Regions from separate parts of the Homo sapiens genome. Here all the other regions are linked to region 4. Evidence: promoter capture Hi-C in 16 types of primary human blood cells and fetal thymus (Javierre and others, 2016). All regions are on one chromosome and are shown on one strand. Each heading gives the region's core, a stretch centred on a gene start or on the middle of the fragment in contact. The rest is flanking DNA. Distances are from core to core; before and after follow the strand shown. Region 1 has its middle 160 kb from the start of ABRA. Region 2 has its middle 220 kb from the start of ABRA. Region 3 has its middle 120 kb from the start of ABRA. Region 4 holds the start of ANGPT1 (angiopoietin 1). Region 5 holds the start of OXR1-AS1 (OXR1 antisense RNA 1). Region 6 has its middle 150 kb from the start of ABRA. Region 7 has its middle 77 kb from the start of ABRA.

Region 1 (2,715 bases), core at 144-2,643, 560 kb after region 4:
CCAATTTTTCCTTCTGTTTTGCAAACCATTTTAAATGATCCTATTGCTTGAGTATAAAAACTTTTCCTATCCCATTACTGCATGTGTGGCATCATCAGTCTCAGCATCTGAACCAATTTTGAGAGGTATAATTGGCGCTACAAGCAGGAAGTTCTACATGATGACTCCTACTTCCTGGGTCTTTCTTCTTTTGCCTTTGGCTTGCCAGCTGGATCATTTGTTGTTACAAACATGCCCTTTGACCTGTTGTCTGCTGACTCATGCAAGCTTTGAGCTGTGTGGCTGTCTGCTGTCAAGCTTGTATTTTGAGCATTCCCATGTTCTGATCCACTTGTAGAGTCCTACTCTGAGCGTCTGTTATAGACTTAACCTACCTAAGTCATATGTTCCAATAATTAGCATTTAGGGACAGGAGTATGAAATTGAGGCCTGCTTTATAGTGAATCTGGGTTGTATGCCTTGGCCAGGACCTATCCATCTGTCTCAGGTTGAATCATGTCTCAATCCCAGCATCATCAGTAAATTAAAGTTGGGCCATTCGTCATCACTGACAAATTGCCCCATTTTGAACTGGGTCCTCTACAAAAAAAGAGGGGGCAGGTGGGGGCAGTAGTCTCTAGAATCCATCCAGATTGCTATGCAACAGGAACTCCCATTAGTATGCCAGAGACCCCTTCCTGTAGAGGCTTTACCAACCTCCTCTCAGGCCTCCTAGAGCCACTGGACCAACCATAGTGGCCATAGTTGCCCATGTGTTTCTGACGCAAGAAACTGCCCTTCCCAGCCCAATGCCACATTGCAGTGGAGCAGCAATTTCTGGCCTCATACAAGGCCCTTCTGGAGATGAAGGCTTCCACAAGCCCTGAGCCTATGACTCTCCAAACTTAGCTGATTGTTATGTCTCAGGTTGTAGGGACAGAACCCTGAAGTCTTGGCATGGCCAATGACCTCCTAATGAAAATGGAAATTGTGCTTCCAGATAGACCCAAACCTGGACCCTCTGGCATATTCCACCTATGAGAGGAAGCAGCTTCCCCTGTCCTCATTCCGTTGTCATGTACGATGACACCAGAGGAAGGTCATCCCTCTTTGGACCCAGTGACCACTTAGGAGGCCCACAGGAGTCAACTGAGTGATCAGAAAGGGTGTTCATAACCTTTAGAGATATCACATGTGTTGAAGCTCCCTGGAGAGCTTTTGCTGTCTATCCCCCAACTGGGATATCCCTGATCAAAGACGAGATCCAAGGGTTACAACAACTGACCAAACTTCAGGCAATCGCCTTAGCACTAGAAGATGACTTGGACAATAGGAAGCTCTTTCTGCACATTTTTACAGACTCTCGGGCTATTGACAATGGTCTGGCTAACTGATCCAATTAATGCTAACAGCAACAGTTCCTTCTCTGAGGTTATCCCGTTAGAAAGAACTCTGGGAATTCTTTGTCCCACAGATACCTAAAATACACACCAAAGTCACACCTATCTCTCTGTGCCCTGAGGCATGACACAAGGCCTCACCAAGACATTCCTTATACCCTTCAGTTCTAGTCATTTTTGATGGTGACCAAGGCATTCATTTTATTTCTCAAAATACAAAACACTGGGCCATTCGCCAAAGCCTTGAATGGAACTTTTACATTCCTTACCAGGCTCAGGGTGCAGGCCTCACAGGATGCCAGAATAGCCTATTTAAGTTCAAATTTCATTAAATGAGACATGGCACATTTCCATCATTGATCAGGTATCAGGAATGAATTGTAATAAAGAGTCTGACTCCAGTTTTGGTGTTTGTTCACTGACAGCGTTTAAGGCCCACCCCTTCTCTTGCCCCTTTTGCCCCACATCTGGGCAGGCCCATAAGAAAGTCTTTTGGTGCCAGCAGGAAATTCAAACCACACAAGTGGCTGGCCCTGCACAGGAACACTCACCCCAGCTCCAATCCCTAACCACAATCAGAACCATCACCTCTCACCTCTCGCATCACTGGAGCCTTTGCAGATTGGCTTGGGTTTCTGCCATGCTCTCCCAGAAAGTCCTGTTATGTAAATTAAAAGCCTTTCCATACCATCTTTGTGTGTGTGTGGCTTTATCAGTCTGCACATTCAAAACTATTTTGGGTGAGGGGTTGATACCACTCTTCAGTGGCAAACACAAAACATATACCTATAACTTTGGGCACTTGTCTAATTATTTCCATATGAAAAATTCCTAGAAGTAAAATATTCATGGCTTGCAATTTTTAAAAGTTTACTCTTTACCTAGCAATGTAAATTGAGTATCTGTTTCTTGTAAATATCAAATAAGATACTCTTTATCCTTGCTAGTCTCATAGATGAAAAATGTATCTTATTGTTTAACTTAAATTTATTTGATTCTTAGTGGTATTAAGCATGTTTTCCAAATTATTTCCTATTCCATTTATCTATATTTTTTATTTCATGTACTTTCTATTTATATAATTTGTCCTTTCTTCCTATTGAAGCTTTTTTTCTTAACTCTGAGGAAATTTATATGTTGATATTAATCCCTTGTATATACTTACAAACACATAGAAATATATAAAAATTGTATATACAAAATATAAACAAAAAATACAAAATAAAAATACAAAAAAAATTCTATGTTACAAATATATACAAAATAATGTTTGTCAACTGTCTCATTTAACTATATCTATGGATTTTTGCAATAGAAATGTTTTAAAGTTTTTATA
Region 2 (2,700 bases), core at 129-2,628, 510 kb after region 4:
AGAAATATCTGTAGTAGACTTACACGGTGCTTTCAAGAGGAATCCAAGAATTTCATAGCTAGGTAATCACTGATGAGATCAGCAGATGTTTCTGCTGAATTTATATTAAATGTTCTCTAATCATAGAATTAGATGCCCACAAAAAAATACTACCACCAAATACGATGAGGGCTCTTTATGCTATGAGATTGTTCTCAATCTACCCATTTTTTTGTTGTTTTATTATTTCATTTTATGATATGTTTTGTAGTCTTCATTATCTTGAAACCTGTTTTAATGCCATATTCAGGAAATCAATTGATCAAAGCTTAAATGCAAAGAGCAAATGCAAAAACAATCAAGTGTGTCTAAGATTCTCTTGACCTCATAAAAATGGGTTTGTGGGTATGTTTTCACAAATAAACACTTGTACACAGGCATGTACACATGATGCTTCTTGGGTCAAATATTTGATCATTTAAATGCTAATGAAGATACAACAATTTCTAGAGAGCTTACCGCTCCTCTTAACTTAAAAACTTTTATGTTTAATAGCACTTACAGGATATTCTCACAAGTGACACAGGATGGATTGTGATAACTGGGTTCTCGCCCTCCCTACGCACTGGTTTAGACACACTATAGCCTAGTAGAAATGACTCTCCTCACTACACCCTGAGCCAGGGCAGGAAAGACTCTCTTTCCCCCTGCTAAAGGAGATTAATATTCCTAAGATTCTCTCTCCCCCTGCTAAAGGAGATTAATATTCCTAAGATCTTACATTCAAGAAGAGCACCATTAAAAAGTCACGGACTCAAAGCTAGCAAGACCCTTGACACAATCAAGTCCAACATTTTTCACCATTGTCCCAATCAATGACCTGAGCTCTCCTCCTCTTCACCAAACCAACCCCTGGCCATCCTGTGAGTCTCTCTCTGGTTTTTGCTTCTGTAGAAATTAGATTGGCAAGCACCTTTCCTGTGATTTCACTTGGAATTCTTGCACACCTCTATACCTCTCTCAGGGCATTTACCAAACAATATTGTGTAATCCAAATGTCAACCGTTCCCTCCGCCCCATGGTCAAATTACACTTCTGCAAATAAAAAAATAAAATCACTATTAAATAGGTTTACATCACACAATCTACTACTTATAACTTTAAAATTCTGCTTTTGAATCTGTCTTTTTCAAAGTTCCCTTCTTTACCATTCTCCTTTTGGAAGAAGCATCCTGGCCTCCAGGATTCCCTGGTTATCATCAACACAAAACAATTCCACTTTAAGGCATACCAGATGCATTTTAGTGATTGAAAAAACTACGTCATGCAAATAACCGTATCTACCCTCCCCAGAGAACAATCACACATCAATCCAGTCTAGTGTTTCTTGAGCATGCTCTTTGACATCTTCCCTCCTACTTGAAAAAACAAAAGTATTTCACCATCAGGACTTTGTAGTTCTTTGGTCCAATGCTCTACTAATGTAATTCAACTCCCCTTCAGGTTTCTGCTTTGTTTCCCATTCTCCGTTTCTCCAACAATTGGCCTTTTCGCTCTGTGCTGTCTGCTTGCCATTTTTCCACCTCGAGGTTGCTGCTAACTCATAGTATCTGCCTCCCTCAGAACTCCAGCCTGTACATTAGGTCATCATGGCTTCTCAGCTTCTGCTTCCAATATAGCCTACTTCAAATATCCAAATTAAGAAATCTGATTGTCCTAGCTCATCTTTGAAACCTAGTCTTATCATAACTCATTGCTCAACATAGGTACCAATTGATCTTTTTCTGAGGCCTACCCTATCAAGCCATATATGGTTTTGATAATCCCATGGTAGAAAAATAAGCATCCAGACCTACCCACTCTGCAGCCATTGCTGACAATTTAGTTCATGTTAGACTGAGCCAGAAGGAAGCAACTATCATGGCTGTTGTCTGCTATGCCAATTGAAGGTCTTTTTTGTCTATTGCAATAGCATGTAATCCATAACCCCTGTCTGCATTGTGAGGCAGTGCACCCTCTCCCAGCTCCTATGAGTATGATTCCCTCCCTTCTCCAGGAACTGTCCTCAGCTGATGGGAGCTGCCTCAACCCACAGGGCATTGCCCTTTCCCCTCTAATTCACCTTCCCTCTCCTGCTTCACTTCCTCTCTTACAGAGTTTTTTTCCTGAAGAACACTCCCTCAACAAATCTGCATCTAAATCCTTGTCTCAGGCTCTGCTTTTAGGGAACATAACCTAAGAATCCTGTTAAGTAAACCAGGCTTCTCTTGTAACTCTATTGGAAATAAGCAATTCTGCCAGCTACTTTTGATAGTAATAACTTTGCATTTATTTTTAAATGTCTAGAATGCAGATTGTTTTGATTTCAGACATAGTATCATTCAAATGGGGACATATAATTGCATAATTAATCTATTGAAACACTTTCACGAGTTTGTGAAGGTAAATGAAATCAACTACAACAAGCTTAGCATTTGTATTCATATACATCATATATTTTTAAAAATCAAATTTCCAGGATCAAATTTAATGAAATAGGCTTATGGGAAATAAAATTAAATCATTTATGTCTAAAAAGAAATTAAAATAAAAACATTTTTTAAAGTGCTTTTAAAAAATGGATCAGAATAGTTAGCCTTAGGAAGTAGACAAGAAAAAGGAACCAAAATAGAATCTCACCTTATACAGATAACAAAAGTTGGTATTATATTTAGATTTCAG
Region 3 (2,700 bases), core at 83-2,582, 610 kb after region 4:
TATTACATGTCAAGTTGCAGACTAGGAAACAATAACCTATATACACAGAGAGAGGAGATATATATATATATATATATATATATATATATATATATATGTATATAGCGAGAGAGACTATACATATATACCCTATGTGTATAGCCTGGATATATGGTGTGTGTGTGTGTGTGTGTGTGTGTGTGTATATATATATATATAAAATAAAGAAAATACAATTAAAACCACAATGAGATACCACTACAAACCTACTAGAATTACTAAAATTTTAAAAAGTTGACATTGCCTAATGTTAGCAAGACATGGAGCTATTGGAACACTCATATACCCTGATCATGGAAGTGTAAAATGTTGCCAACACTTTGGGAGTGGTTTGACGGTTTCTTAAAAGTGGAAAGTAAATTTACGTATGATCTAAAAATATATGTTTTCCCAAAGATCTACAAGATAAATAAAAATACATGTCTATACAAAATCTTGTCTTAAATGTTTATAGCAGTTTTGTATGTAATAGTGAAAAAGCAGAAAACTGGGAACAAACTGAATGTACATTAACAAATGAATGGAAATACAAACTAGATATTTTTATGCAATGGAAAATTACACAGCAGTGAAAAGCAGTGAATTGCTGAGGTACACAACAAAAAGATGAACCAAAAGGTATGCTAAGCAAAAGAAGACAGATGCAAAGAAATACATATAATTTTATTTATCTAAAATTCTAGAAAGATAAATCAAAGTATAGGTATAGAAAGCAAATCAGTAAATACCTGGGGCTAGTGGTGAAGCATAGGGACTGATTAGGAGAGGGCATAAAGAAAGCTTTGGAGGTGTTGAAAATGTTTTATATTTTGTTGCTGATGGCAGTAACATGGAATATATATTTGTCAAAAATCATCAACCTCTACAGTTACCATGGGTGCATTTTGCTGTATGTAAATTATCCTTCAATAAAATTGATTTTAAAAATCCAAAGAAAACCCAAAGTCAAGTCTAATGTTCTTCTGGATACTCACATGAAAGAGTTCCTTACCTCCTTTCAGTCTTTGTTCAAATGTCATCTTCTCAGTGAGGACTTCCCCTACCACTCTATTTAAAATTTCAACCAGGCTTTCCAATTCTTAACCCTTCTTCTACCCTCTTCCCTACGGTGCTTAGTGTCAGCTAATACACTATATAGTTTACCTAGATTGTATATTTATCATTTATTGTCTGCTTTCTCAAACTAAAATGAAATTTCCATAAAGCTGCAAATATTTTATATTTATTTTTATGTTTCGTTCACTGATGCAACCCCAATAGCTATGTACCTTACACACAGCACATGTGCAATAAGTCTGTACTGGATAAATGAATGAAGTTCCAAAGAGCAAATTTTTTCAGAGCAATCCAGTTTTAGCAAGCCACTAGAGGAAAAGTATTGGGATACCTTTGGGTAATCACATTTCTATGTTGTCATATCTAAACAGTCTTTCTCAAATGTATTTGCAGTGTTACTGGTTAAGTCTAAGTAACAATTGACACATAATCTTGGTATTAAACAGGAGAAAGACTGAGAAAAATATTTTTTAAAGGACGCAAAGACCATGGTGCCACAGTCAATGATACAACAAAGGAGCTGACACGTACCCTATTAAAATGTCACTTTAATCACATTTACTCTTAGGAATGCTTTCAAAGTTAATTTACTCTTAGAACCATTCAAGAAGGTTTATTTACCTGTGTCAAAGAAGGTTTATTATATTTACTTTAATCAAGTTATTTAACCTCTCTGGATCCGTTTTCTCAACTGTAAAATGAATAGGGTTTTCAGACTACGTAGAATCATTGAGTTTTGAAGAAGCTTCTGAGAAATCTAAAGGGTGTTTTTGGCAAGTAGAGCTGGGCTTAGGTAATTAATGAAAAATTTTTGGAGCCAAGTCATCAACATATCAGAACGCTAGAGAGAAAATTCACAAATTCCAGCTAATTCTCCGCTTCCCCAAAGCTAAATTGTCCCACTCTTCTTTTGATTCTATGGGTTACCACAGGGATTCTCCCATAACCTCACCCCCTCTTTTAAAAGTATGTTGACCAGGGTCATCCTCTATCATTTGTCACTGAGAATCCTGAATGATAAAGAAATTGGTCCTTGTTGAAGTGGGGTATCACATGCAGCAAATGCTAAAATGTGAAAATAACTGAAGTTTAAATGAGAAACATCAAGGTTTTCTTGCATTAATTGAGAAAATTTCAATTCTTGCTAGTTTAAATAGAAAAAAATGTTTGATTAAGATGCCATCTGTTATATTTTGAAGCCCAGATCAAATGACTAGACTGGACTTCCAGGCTACTGATAGGAAAGGTCAGTATGCTGAAGTGTGTCAGTTACTTCTTTCAAATTTTCATAAAATGTTACAAGACAGCGATGATCCACTGACATAGCTATATGTATAGGTTTTACCACAAAAGTTCATGTGAAATAATTGCTGGGGGTTCCTGTCATTTTTACTGCATTTTCTAAGTGTTTGTTGTAATTGTTAAAATTGTGCTAATGAAAAACTAGCACATTTAGATTATAAAAAAATTTCAATTGTAAATCACATTACTTTTCTATGTCCTCCAATATTGATCGAGATACAGTACATATTATTAATATAGAAGAGCTTAGCTAATTATAATGCAAAGACTCAGATCTTCCCAAGCATTAAATATGTCATGTTT
Region 4 (2,700 bases), core at 140-2,639:
TTTGTTATTTGGTGTGGAAAGGACTGATGAATCTCGGCAAGGTTTCTTTCCCCAAGTAAATCGCATTTGTTCTGGAATTTGTTTTGACCTCTCCTCTAACTTCTCCCTAAATGCCCATCTCTAACCACTACGGACCTTCACCCACTGCCCTGTTCTCCTTCCAAGACATGGGAGATGACAGCTGTGGCTTCTGTTTTCACACCATGACTGCAGTTGTCTAAAAGCCCTCCCAGTTCCTAATGAAAATCCCAACTCATAATTCAGGTTTTCTGCATCTAGTAAAGATCTCAAAGCCGTTCCCTAAATTCTACAATTATTGCCTGTTTATGTTTATGGGTCCCTTTGTTCAAATGTTTATACGCTGCCTGTGGGAAATCATCTTCTGATAATTTTTCTTTCTTCCTTCACAGAAGCACAGAGATGTCTCCTGTACAGCCCATTGCTGGCTGTTAGCACACCTGATATATGCTTGTTCTCACATAGTATGTCTGTGCAGCCACAGGAGGTTTTTATGTGGAACTTCCACACCAGTGTTAAAGACAGCCATAGCCACCAAAGAGATCCTTGTAAAATACAGGATTAGGATATACCACAGGAATTAATAATTCTCAAGCCACTGCTTTAAATTGTAGCCACATTGTTTTTGTAGGGAAGTTGCTCAATTTATATACACAGAACATGAAGGGTTGCATTCTGATCAGGACACCAGTTTCATTTAAGAACCCTATACCAAAAGGTACTTAGATAACCCTCTTTAATATGCACATACTATATTGCTTTGTGCAACATATTGCTTTGAGCAACAAATGATGCTAATTTTCTTGCTAATTTGATCCTCTCTGATTATTTTCTTCAACTCCTAAAAGTCTAAGTGAATACAATGAAAGAATACCATCTGTAAAAACTGTTTTTTAACATATTTTTCCTCAGAGTCAAGAATACATGTTTTTTAAAGACATTTAATAATGATATGGGTTTATCATTCTCTATCAAAAATAATTCCATTGGACATTATGCCAATTTTCTTCTTAGGGTCCCTCGACTAAATAGTAACTTTAAAAACATACTGCTAGTTTGCTATATTTTAGTAGGTCAGCATGCACACCAAAAGTGTATTAAGGTGGACTGCTCTATTTATTGATTTGCCATGAATCTGCTAAAGGCTCAAGGCAATTGTCTGTGGAAAGGGGCGGGAGGGCCATACATGATCGAGGTCATGCGCATCTAGCCAATTTGTAAGACGATCCCGCCGCCCTAAGCCATCAGCAATCCTTAGTATAGGGGCACACTCATGCATTCCTGTCAAGTCATCTTGTGAAAGGCTGCCTGCTTCCAGCTTGGCTTGGATGTGCAACCTTAATAAAACTCACTGAGGTCTGGGAGAAAATAGCAGATCTGCAGCAGATAGGGTAGAGGAAAGGGTCTAGAATATGTACACGCAGCTGACTCAGGCAGGCTCCATGCTGAACGGTCACACAGAGAGGAAACAATAAATCTCAGCTACTATGCAATAAATATCTCAAGTTTTAACGAAGAAAAACATCATTGCAGTGAAATAAAAAATTTTAAAATTTTAGAACAAAGCTAACAAATGGCTAGTTTTCTATGATTCTTCTTCAAACGCTTTCTTTGAGGGGGAAAGAGTCAAACAAACAAGCAGTTTTACCTGAAATAAAGAACTAGTTTTAGAGGTCAGAAGAAAGGAGCAAGTTTTGCGAGAGGCACGGAAGGAGTGTGCTGGCAGTACAATGACAGTTTTCCTTTCCTTTGCTTTCCTCGCTGCCATTCTGACTCACATAGGGTGCAGCAATCAGCGCCGAAGTCCAGAAAACAGTGGGAGAAGATATAACCGGATTCAACATGGGCAATGTGCCTACACTTTCATTCTTCCAGAACACGATGGCAACTGTCGTGAGAGTACGACAGACCAGTACAACACAAACGCTCTGCAGAGAGATGCTCCACACGTGGAACCGGATTTCTCTTCCCAGAAACTTCAACATCTGGAACATGTGATGGAAAATTATACTCAGTGGCTGCAAAAAGTAAGTGATTGCTTTCAGTTTCTAATAGCACGGACCTTTTTCCTTTCTTGCACTGCAGCTAACTTAAAGTTCCTTAGGGGAGCATTTGTGTATTTACCTTTTGCTCCAGGGGGGCAGTGTTTGCAATTGCAAGACGGCTGTCTGGGTTTGGCTTCCTGGGTAAGCCAAGGTTTGGGGGCTTGCCCAAACCTATGAATGTGTGGGGGCACCCCGTTTGTGTGTCTAGCCCTGGCAAATTTTATGACATTTTTGGTTTCTCTTTTCTAAAGTTCAGCATTAAGGTTCTCTCTGTCAAAACACTACCTTAAGAAAGAAAGTATGTACCTCTTAAGCAAGTTGGTGAAAAATAAATAATAATGACAATATTAATTAATAAGATCAAATCGATTTTGCACCAGAAAATTTTGTGCCGCTGGGGTGGCAAATCATCACAAAGTATTTGTTTTTTTAACCTTTATAAAAATTAACATGAAGTGAGAGTAAATATAAAATATGATATTTGGTTGGAGAAATTGTATATTTATGTAAAGGGAACTGTTAGTTTCAGCAAGTGGTAGAATAGTAGACTGATTTCTGTTAAATATTTTTTTCTTCTGTCCTTGAGAAAAAAAATTAAAAAGATACATTGTAATGTTAACTGTCGGAAAGGGGTTGC
Region 5 (2,700 bases), core at 12-2,511, 840 kb after region 4:
CAGACATGGCTAGGATGTCTGCTACCTGTTAAACGAAGCCAAGGACACTGGAAGTTACCCTATGCATTATGCTAAAACTGTTCAGCAGCACTTTCAAAAATTCTTTAAGTTATCAATATCATGTCGCTACAAATGACTGTTTTAAAGAATGGTACAAAGCCACTGTGGTGAAAAAAATCGGCCAACACAACACAAAATAAACAGGAACTGAGAAAGTTTCTAGGTTCTGCCACCACAAGACAACGTGCAGCCGTTCAAAAAGTACACGACGCAAAATGTCAACTAGCTTCCAATGTTAATGAAGTGTTTTATTTTACAAAGAAGTATCTGGCTTTTTATTTTTCGGTTAGGAAGTGAATCCTAACAACTGAGAAATATTAAGGAAAGACTGACCCAAACCAAAACCAAAGCAGGCACAGCGCTCTTCAAGAATCCAAGACTGAAAACACGGACGTCATAACTGGTTCAGTCTTCACCTCCCAGTGGGAGGGAAAGAGAGAATGGATCGTCCCCTTGAAATACTTGGCGGGGAAAGAAAATCAAGTCTAGGTGAGGAAAGCAGGAAGAGCAGAGCAGGAAGAGCTGGCACGCAGCTGAAAGTCTTCCCTCCCCAGAGCCGAACGAGTCCTTCCTTCCTCGCCCCCGGCGGCCGCCACCCCGGCCACGTTGCCCGCCCCGGCCCAGGCACACCTGCCAGAGCCGGGCAGCGACCCCCGCCCGGCGCCACGACCGCCGCCTCCCCACAGCCCTCAGCCCAGGTCGGCCGCGCGGGAGGCGAAAGAAAGGTGGGCTCACCAGGTCCCTCCGGGCTGGACGGCGCCGGGGGCCGGTGGGGCGGGGACCCGCACCCGAGGTCCCCCTGGGCTGGCTCCCTCAGGTAATCTTCGAAGCGCACCTGCCGGGCTTCGCCGCCGCCCCCGAACCCCAACAGGCGGTTGGCCGTGCCCCGCAGAAGGCGCCCACTCTTCTCGGTGAACGTCGTCAGGTAGTCCATGCTGCCGCGGGGCTGGACGCGGAACTGGGGCCCAGGAGGTCGACGGTTTCGGCGGTGGCGGCCACCACTAGCGCGCCCACCGGCCCATCAGACCTGACCCAGGGGAGGCGGCTCCGCGCGCCTCACAAGAGGCGGGGAGGAGGAGGGGGCGTCCCTCTCTCTGCCCGGGGACGGACCATCAGGAAACCACGCGTCGGGGGAGCAAAAGACGGACAAAAGTTTTCGAAAAGTTTTTCTTGTGGCTTCTAAATGCAAAATGAGGCAGAACTTAGCTTGTCACATAGGTGTATTCTTCCTGGAACCGATGCGGGGTCAGAAAACTGATGGCTTTTAAGCAAGCTGGACGGGTCCTCTCAGCGCATTCCCCCACCCGCCTGGCGCCAATGGAGCTGGCCTGGCCCGCCCAGCCCCTCCCCGCCCCGTCCGCGCTCGGACCGGACTTTCAGGACTGCAGGGGAAAGGGTGGACACCCAGCCTCCCGCCAGGTCAGAGCAGAGGCTAAAAATGGCCCAGGGGAGACTGCTGGAGTTGCATGGAGTTCGGGAGCCTAGGAGGGGTCTGAAAATAACTGTCAAAAAGTTTGAAGGGTGTGTGTTGGCTTGGGGAAAAAAGAGGGTGGAGTGCATTACATAAAACTTTTGCAGCTTGTATTTCCTTTTTTTTTTTTTATGTTTAAGGACGGCGGAGATACCTTCAACGTAAGACTGCAATCATAATTAAAACATGAATAGTAACATTTTAAGTTCGTTGTGCCATTATGAACTCATGTTAGTGTTGGACATTCTATGATCCCAGTCCTGTTTAGGCAACGTTATTGAGGGATTTAGTTTGCGGATCTACCTTTCAGGGACAAAGAACCTAGACAGGGAAAGAACAGTAACTTTTGACAGAAATTTTGCTTCCTGTGAGATGTGGTTATTCTCTTCCTTTCACATCTGTTTGTAGTTCTTTTAGTTTTCCCAGGCATTAAATAAATTAAACCCTCTTTCTTGGAATCACCAATATATTAATATATTGGGGGGAAAAAGATTTGAATTACTTAGGAAGTTGATGAACTACCCACTCCAACAATAGAGCCCTGAAAATCAGGCTTAAGCTTTTGGCCATACTACTAAAGACTATCCCTCCTGACAAACACACACCCTCTTTTTTTTTTTTTTTTTTTAACTGGTTGACAGATCTTTTTTGCATCATCACCATTTTCAGTTTAGATTCTTACTAGGTGGGATAAATTTCACCATTCTAATATCAGCCATCACCATTATGCCTGGTGAAAAATACAGAATGTCTGGGCTGCATCCTCAGAGTGTCTAATTCGGTGTTTATGGGAAAGGGACCCAGGAGAATCTGCATACCCAGCAATCCATGTTTTCAGGGTTGTGGCTTGGGAAAGAACTGTTCCAGACTTCTGCACTTCCTAAGGACCTATTTTGTAGATGTTGCAGTGGACGGAATGTTTGTGCTTTCCCTTAAATTCATTTGTTAAAATCCTAACCCCAATGTGATGGTATTAGGAGATGGGGCCTTTGGGAGGTAATTCATAGCATAGAGGCCGCATGAATGCGATTAGTGCCCTTATAAAAAAGGGACCCAGAGAGCTGTCTCCATCTTTCTGCCACAGGAGGATACAAAAATACATCAGTTTGCAAACCAGAAGAAGGTCCTCACCAGAAACCAACTATGCTGGCACCCTGATCTTGGACTTC
Region 6 (2,700 bases), core at 57-2,556, 580 kb after region 4:
AGATGTCTTACACAGACCTAATCCTCTATAACAAACATTATCTATTATTGTCCAGATGCATTGCATCAAAATTATTCAGTTTTGTCTATCTTCACAGCAGATAGCAATATCCTTGTAGGGTAAGTAAAGATAAGCAAAGATGCAAAAACTATTTTTAAGAATGGAAGAAGGGAGGGAAGAAGGAATGTGTTGCATAATAAACAATGATCTATATTGTGCCCCTTATAGAATTTGCCTTCAATTTTCAGGAGATTTTATATGGGGAGAAAAAAGAATAATTTCAGCATCAAACAAGGATCTGAATCAAAATTCTTCTATTAAGCACAATGTATACCAGGGGCCCCAGAGGAGCCAAATCCCTTTTCTTTCCAGGTCCAGCCTCAGTGATTTACAAATGCAGACAATTCTAATCAGTCAGAAATTTTAGGTTGGCTCTGAGCACTATGAGATATGCAGTTCACTGAAAATGTTGCAAATCAAATGAAGCATGTTACATTGGTAATATATACCTGGTTTCATGTGCCACAGCACAAATCTACATAGGCATTAAAATAGACACAAATATCACAAGAGGATAGCAGATATCTCTCTGCCCCATTTAACACACACAACTTTTTCTTGTTTCTTGGAGATTGAGCTCTTGTTTCAGTTTTTTATTGCCTATCAATCAGCTTGAGAAGGCATCTGCAATTGTGTTTCGTTCATGAAGATATAAATCCTGGCAGCAGCAGCCTACAGACATCGAAAAGCTCCATTCTAAATTACCTTTGTCAGACTGTATAGAAAGTAAAAGGCACACTTCAGTCTTATTTTATTAAACAGGGGACGTACCAGCCAGCCTAAAAATGGAAAATCCTTTTCATTGACATGCTCCATTAACTGCATTTCTCTGAAAAAAAATATATATCTCAGTGCACTTCTTTACCTCTGCTCCTCTAATTACTGCTTACAAATTCTTTTCTCTCAATCATGCTATCTCCCATAAATCAGGAAGCAAAAACATTTGCAGCTGAGTCCCTAGCTATAATTTAACATGATATGCCACAATGCCACTATTATGCCAAAAACTAATAATATACCAGTCACCATGGGAACCAGGGCATGAAAAGGTGAAAGTCCTCCTTTACACAAGATGGGTGGGACTTTTATGGAGCCATGTGTCCCACCAACATCATGAGCTATACTATTCTGGCAAAATTCCTTAGACTCAGCTGATTCTCAATCCCAGAGAAGTGTTCATCCATCCTGCATTTCCTGATATTTAACTTGCAATTCGTCTACACCCCCAAAGGAGATAAATTATAGGGTAATCATTCATATTATGGACAGGTTTTTCATTATACATTCACTGCCAAGAAAAATAGCATATGACAAAACATTAAAAGATCAACTTAAAAAAGAGAGCAACTGAGAGTTATCACTACCATTAAATTAGTTTATTTCACTTTACAAAAGCACTGATGGATCTTAAGGTTCTATACTGTACTTCCCAATTCTTATGGACACATTCAAGATTGATAATTTCAAAGTTGGAAAATGTGGTCACAATGTTAAAGGTTGATCAGAAAAGAATTAAATATCTCTATAGTTATAAATCAGTGGGAAGGAATTATTTCATTTTCCAAAATATTAATTCACATAGTGATTCTGTGATAAGACTTGTTTCAGTGAGGAAAACCTGTTCTAGCACATGCATTCATACCTGTGCCCCCTACATACAAGGAAGGAGCTCCCATATAATTCTGTTCTGCAAATATTTCTTGCTCACTACTCTCCATTTCTATCTTATTTGCTCGGCTTTGGCCTCATGAAAACAGAAAATTTCAATTACAGGGGAAAAAATAATTGGATTTCTACCATAAGGAAAATATTTCTTAGAGGAGAAGGCAAAGAAAATGCAGGGGACAATACTAAAATGATAATATATAATGAGTTTGGATAAAAGTCAACTCAGCTGTATGTATGGTATTGAATGATATGACTCATTTATTTTTCTGCAAAGTTTTGTCCATGATTTCAAGAACTGAGCTGAAATTCTCTTTTGTTATAGTTCTATAAAATTTAAAGTAAAAATTGGTGCACAAATGCATTGCTGCTTACCAGAGTAGACAAATCTTTGCCACACATGTTGATTTCATTGTGATTCAAATGATTGCTAACAGTCTTGAGTTCATTAAATTTAAAACATATTTTATGGAATATTTTGTTCCTTCAATGTGAAAACCATGTGTGCTTTAATAAAAAATTTAGTTCAAGAGAGTTCAATTCCATTTCAAATTATTAACATTTAAGTGATTTTCTTGATGTTAACCAATAAAGTCAGCTAAACCTGCAGAATAATGTTGCATGAGATGTTTTGCAGTTAATGGGAGGCCAAAGTTAGAATTAGTGTCCTATGGAAGGAGTGGAAACATTTGTCCATGTACGCCAAGAAAGTAACCATGAAATTTTGAAAGATAATGGTGGATTAGAGGGTGCAGATTTCTTGCAAATGATCTTCAAATGATTTGGCACATTTATTTTGCTCTTTTTGTGACTAAATAAATACATATGTCTCTCACATATATCCTTTCTAGTTGTGTGTATGTACGTGTGTCTACATGCATTGTTATAATAAAATATAAATTCATCTAATAGGATAGTTTTTCAAGTGTTTTTTAAAGTAAATCATTTCTTTTCATGACTGTTCAAGTATCAATT
Region 7 (2,726 bases), core at 96-2,595, 650 kb after region 4:
TACAATATAAAACTTGTCTTTTCTTACTGTTGGGTTATATTCAAGATAATTTGGAAAGCCATTGGATTAGACAAACTTCTGGTAATGATGATAGTGTGGGGGAAAAAGGCATTCTCATAAGCTTCAAGAGAGAACATGAAACAGTACAACCATTTTAGAGGGTAATTTGGCAATAGGTGTACTGAAAGTCTCAACATTATTCGGAACTTTTGATCTTGTAATTCTGCCCCTCAAAATTTAGCCTAAAGAAGTATTTGATCAAGTACTTAGGCACATATGTTTTTTCACAGCAACATGAATAATAATGAAAACCTGGAAACAACTAAAGGTCAAATGAAGTAATACTCTAAACAAATTTTGTGGCAGGTATATAACATGCAACCAAATTTGCTAGTTGTTATTTACCAATATAGAAAGATATTTATTATAATATTACATAACACAAATGGCATCATCCAATTTTTGTGGTTTTCTAAATTTGTGTCCATAGAGACATTTCTGAAAGGATCTATATGCAAAAACTGTAAAAATCAGTAACTCTGTGGAAGTGGGGAGGCGTTATGGATAAGTTCTGTTTTTCCCATTTCGATTATTTCAAACATGCTTTTTTCTAAAATGAATATGGATTTCTATTTTAGAAACATTGATAATTATTCCAATCTTGTTCAGTCTCAGATACGATGACTTTCAGATCTTACGCCTGGAGACCAACTTCTGACGCTCAGCCCAATTTCTTAAAAGAGTAGTTTGACTTAGGTATGTTATACCCTAAAGTTTGAAAAGGGAAATCAGAATTGTATATAAAGGAGACAAGAAGAAATTGATCCAACTAGAATAGGAGATGCTTTTCATAATTACATTATAAGACTAGATAATAAAAGGAAATCAATATAAAATCAGGCCTTAAGGTTTAGGATTTGCAACATGGACTTGATCTTCATAAGGTAATGTGGAGTCATTTAAGAGGAAGGCATTGATGATGTTTTACCAAACAGTACATCATAATTTCACCTCATGTAACTTTAATACTCTGTGAAAACTAGTTCTGAAGGTCAGTGTGAGAGCCATGCTGCAAAGTAAGAGCGGTGGAGTATGGAATGAAAAGTGAAAGTGACACAGGAGGGTTCTTCATGGAACTCTTTTCTCACAAAATGTCATATTCTATTCCAGCACCTCTTACAGGTACTTAAATCTTTATGACAAGCTTAAGAACATTGCATTTATACACCTACAAATGTCATCTTGAGTCCTAGGATTAATATTCTACTTGAATATCACCTCCATTTTGTGGGGAAAGATCTTTAAAGATTCCTTTTTTTTTTTTTTGCAATGTTTCAAGAATCATGTTTGGAAAATACCATGCCCTAGTGAAGACCTTATATTGTTCTAAGAGAAATAACATAGGCTCTACTCAGTATTTCAAAAGATAAGACCACACATATGTTTTGCATTGACTAAGCCTTAGTCTATGAGTTGGCAAGCTTTTTGTAAAGGGTCAGATAATTATTTTAGGATTTGTGAGACATATGGCCTCTGTTGCAACAGGAGCCATAGACAATGTAAAACAAATGGGAGTGGCTGTGTTCCAATAAAACTTTATTTGCAAAACTTTGTTATTTGCAAAAACAGATACCGGAACCAATTTTGCCCACAAACCAAGGTTTTCCAGCTCCTAACTTAGACAACATAATGTAAACTTTACCAAAACACAAATTTATCCACATTCAGAAATTTACTAAAAAATAACTGAACAGGATATTTGATCATTTAAGAATTCAATATTCTACTAGATTTCATATAAATCATTTATATAGATTTAGTGATTTTCTAGAAAGTTTTTATATTTTACAAAATCCAACAATATAGAAATGGAGATCAGGTCTCATGTTTACAAACTTACTTAGAATTTTAAATTTCATAAAGGTTGAAATTATTCTAAATCTGTTGGAACCTGCAAGCGTTTTAAGTGCATGCTTGGCTGTGCAAAAATGTAGCCTTTTTCTCTATACTGGAAGTTGACTAACTTCATAGCCTTTTCTGCTGATGGTGGAAAATTAGCCAATTCTTGATCAGTTCTCAGTTCAGCTCAAATACTCAGTTCAGGCCCAGGCTCAAAATTCTCTCCCAAATTTTTGGGATTTCTCCTTTATCCAGTTCCTGGATTGACTCTGTAGTCCAGTACCAGGGAGGTACTAGTATCAGCTACTGAATTTTTGTCCCATTTCTCCCCGGGGCACAAATGAGGCATGTTTCTCCCGAATAGTATCCTTAGTTTAACTGACTCCACTTCTTCCCTCTTCCCTGGGTTTTGGGATCTACTAGAATTCTAACGAAGTTTTCTGATGATACCTGAGATAAACTATATATCACACTCTCTCCCACTTCTATTCATGGCCACCTGGTGGCAGGCCTAGGAACACTTCCTCTTGCATATTCTTTGAGACTCCGCCAGTTCTCCAGAACAGTGAGAAAGTCAGATGGGAGATGAGGACAGGGCAGTCCCTGACCTTCTGATTCTCAAATACGTTACATTTGCATTTTCAGCTCTCTCCCCCCATACTGAGCTCAGTGGTATGGGGAGAAAAGGTATGGCTGCTACTGTTCAAGATCTCAAACAGGCAGTAGACGAGTCCATTCTCTCTCCAGTCCTCAAATCCTATGGCAGTGGAGGGTAGGGGGTGTTGAGGCTGTTAAGTCAGGGTACCACATCCCCACTAACTATTATC

The links. The method cuts DNA at HindIII sites, captures the fragments that hold promoters and counts their contacts. A CHiCAGO score of 5 or more calls a contact.
Region 1: a contact is called between a fragment that was not itself captured here and the fragment with the promoter of ANGPT1 in region 4, in 1 of 17 cell types (erythroblasts). The highest score is 6.7, in erythroblasts.
Region 2: a fragment that was not itself captured here is called in contact with the fragment with the promoter of ANGPT1 in region 4 in 1 of 17 cell types (erythroblasts); the score reaches 5.5 in erythroblasts.
Region 3: a fragment that was not itself captured here is called in contact with the fragment with the promoter of ANGPT1 in region 4 in 2 of 17 cell types (erythroblasts and endothelial precursors); the score reaches 5.4 in erythroblasts.
Region 5: the fragment with the promoter of OXR1-AS1 here is called in contact with the fragment with the promoter of ANGPT1 in region 4 in 1 of 17 cell types (monocytes); the score reaches 5.6 in monocytes.
Region 6: a fragment that was not itself captured here is called in contact with the fragment with the promoter of ANGPT1 in region 4 in 1 of 17 cell types (fetal thymus); the score reaches 5.6 in fetal thymus.
Region 7: a fragment that was not itself captured here is called in contact with the fragment with the promoter of ANGPT1 in region 4 in 1 of 17 cell types (endothelial precursors); the score reaches 6.9 in endothelial precursors.

What each region holds. Positions count from the first base shown.
Region 1 is chr8:106,933,121-106,935,835 of GRCh38, reverse strand. No RefSeq gene overlaps it. Among named protein-coding and RNA genes, the nearest start is that of ABRA, 160 kb to the right of the region's middle. The HindIII fragment of the contact is 2,187 bases long and covers 300-2,486 here.
Region 2 is chr8:106,984,573-106,987,272 of GRCh38, reverse strand. No RefSeq gene overlaps it. Among named protein-coding and RNA genes, the nearest start is that of ABRA, 220 kb to the right of the region's middle. The HindIII fragment of the contact is 2,138 bases long and covers 310-2,447 here.
Region 3 is chr8:106,886,095-106,888,794 of GRCh38, reverse strand. No RefSeq gene overlaps it. Among named protein-coding and RNA genes, the nearest start is that of ABRA, 120 kb to the right of the region's middle. The HindIII fragment of the contact is 1,021 bases long and covers 822-1,842 here.
Region 4 is chr8:107,496,607-107,499,306 of GRCh38, reverse strand. It overlaps ANGPT1 (angiopoietin 1), which reads left to right and starts at 1,389. Exons shown (of 9, transcript NM_001146.5): 1 at 1,389-2,045. The coding sequence starts at 1,749. The HindIII fragment of the contact is 4,855 bases long and covers 1-2,700 here.
Region 5 is chr8:106,656,281-106,658,980 of GRCh38, reverse strand. It overlaps OXR1-AS1 (OXR1 antisense RNA 1), which reads left to right and starts at 1,261. Exons shown (of 3, transcript XR_007061059.1): 1 at 1,261-2,700. The region is part of intron 3 of OXR1 (oxidation resistance 1); the gene reads right to left. RefSeq lists silencers at 651-800, 841-1,090 and an enhancer at 1,161-1,370. The HindIII fragment of the contact is 2,439 bases long and covers 1-2,092 here.
Region 6 is chr8:106,914,365-106,917,064 of GRCh38, reverse strand. No RefSeq gene overlaps it. Among named protein-coding and RNA genes, the nearest start is that of ABRA, 150 kb to the right of the region's middle. The HindIII fragment of the contact is 4,869 bases long and covers 1-2,700 here.
Region 7 is chr8:106,845,759-106,848,484 of GRCh38, reverse strand. No RefSeq gene overlaps it. Among named protein-coding and RNA genes, the nearest start is that of ABRA, 77 kb to the right of the region's middle. The HindIII fragment of the contact is 277 bases long and covers 1,207-1,483 here.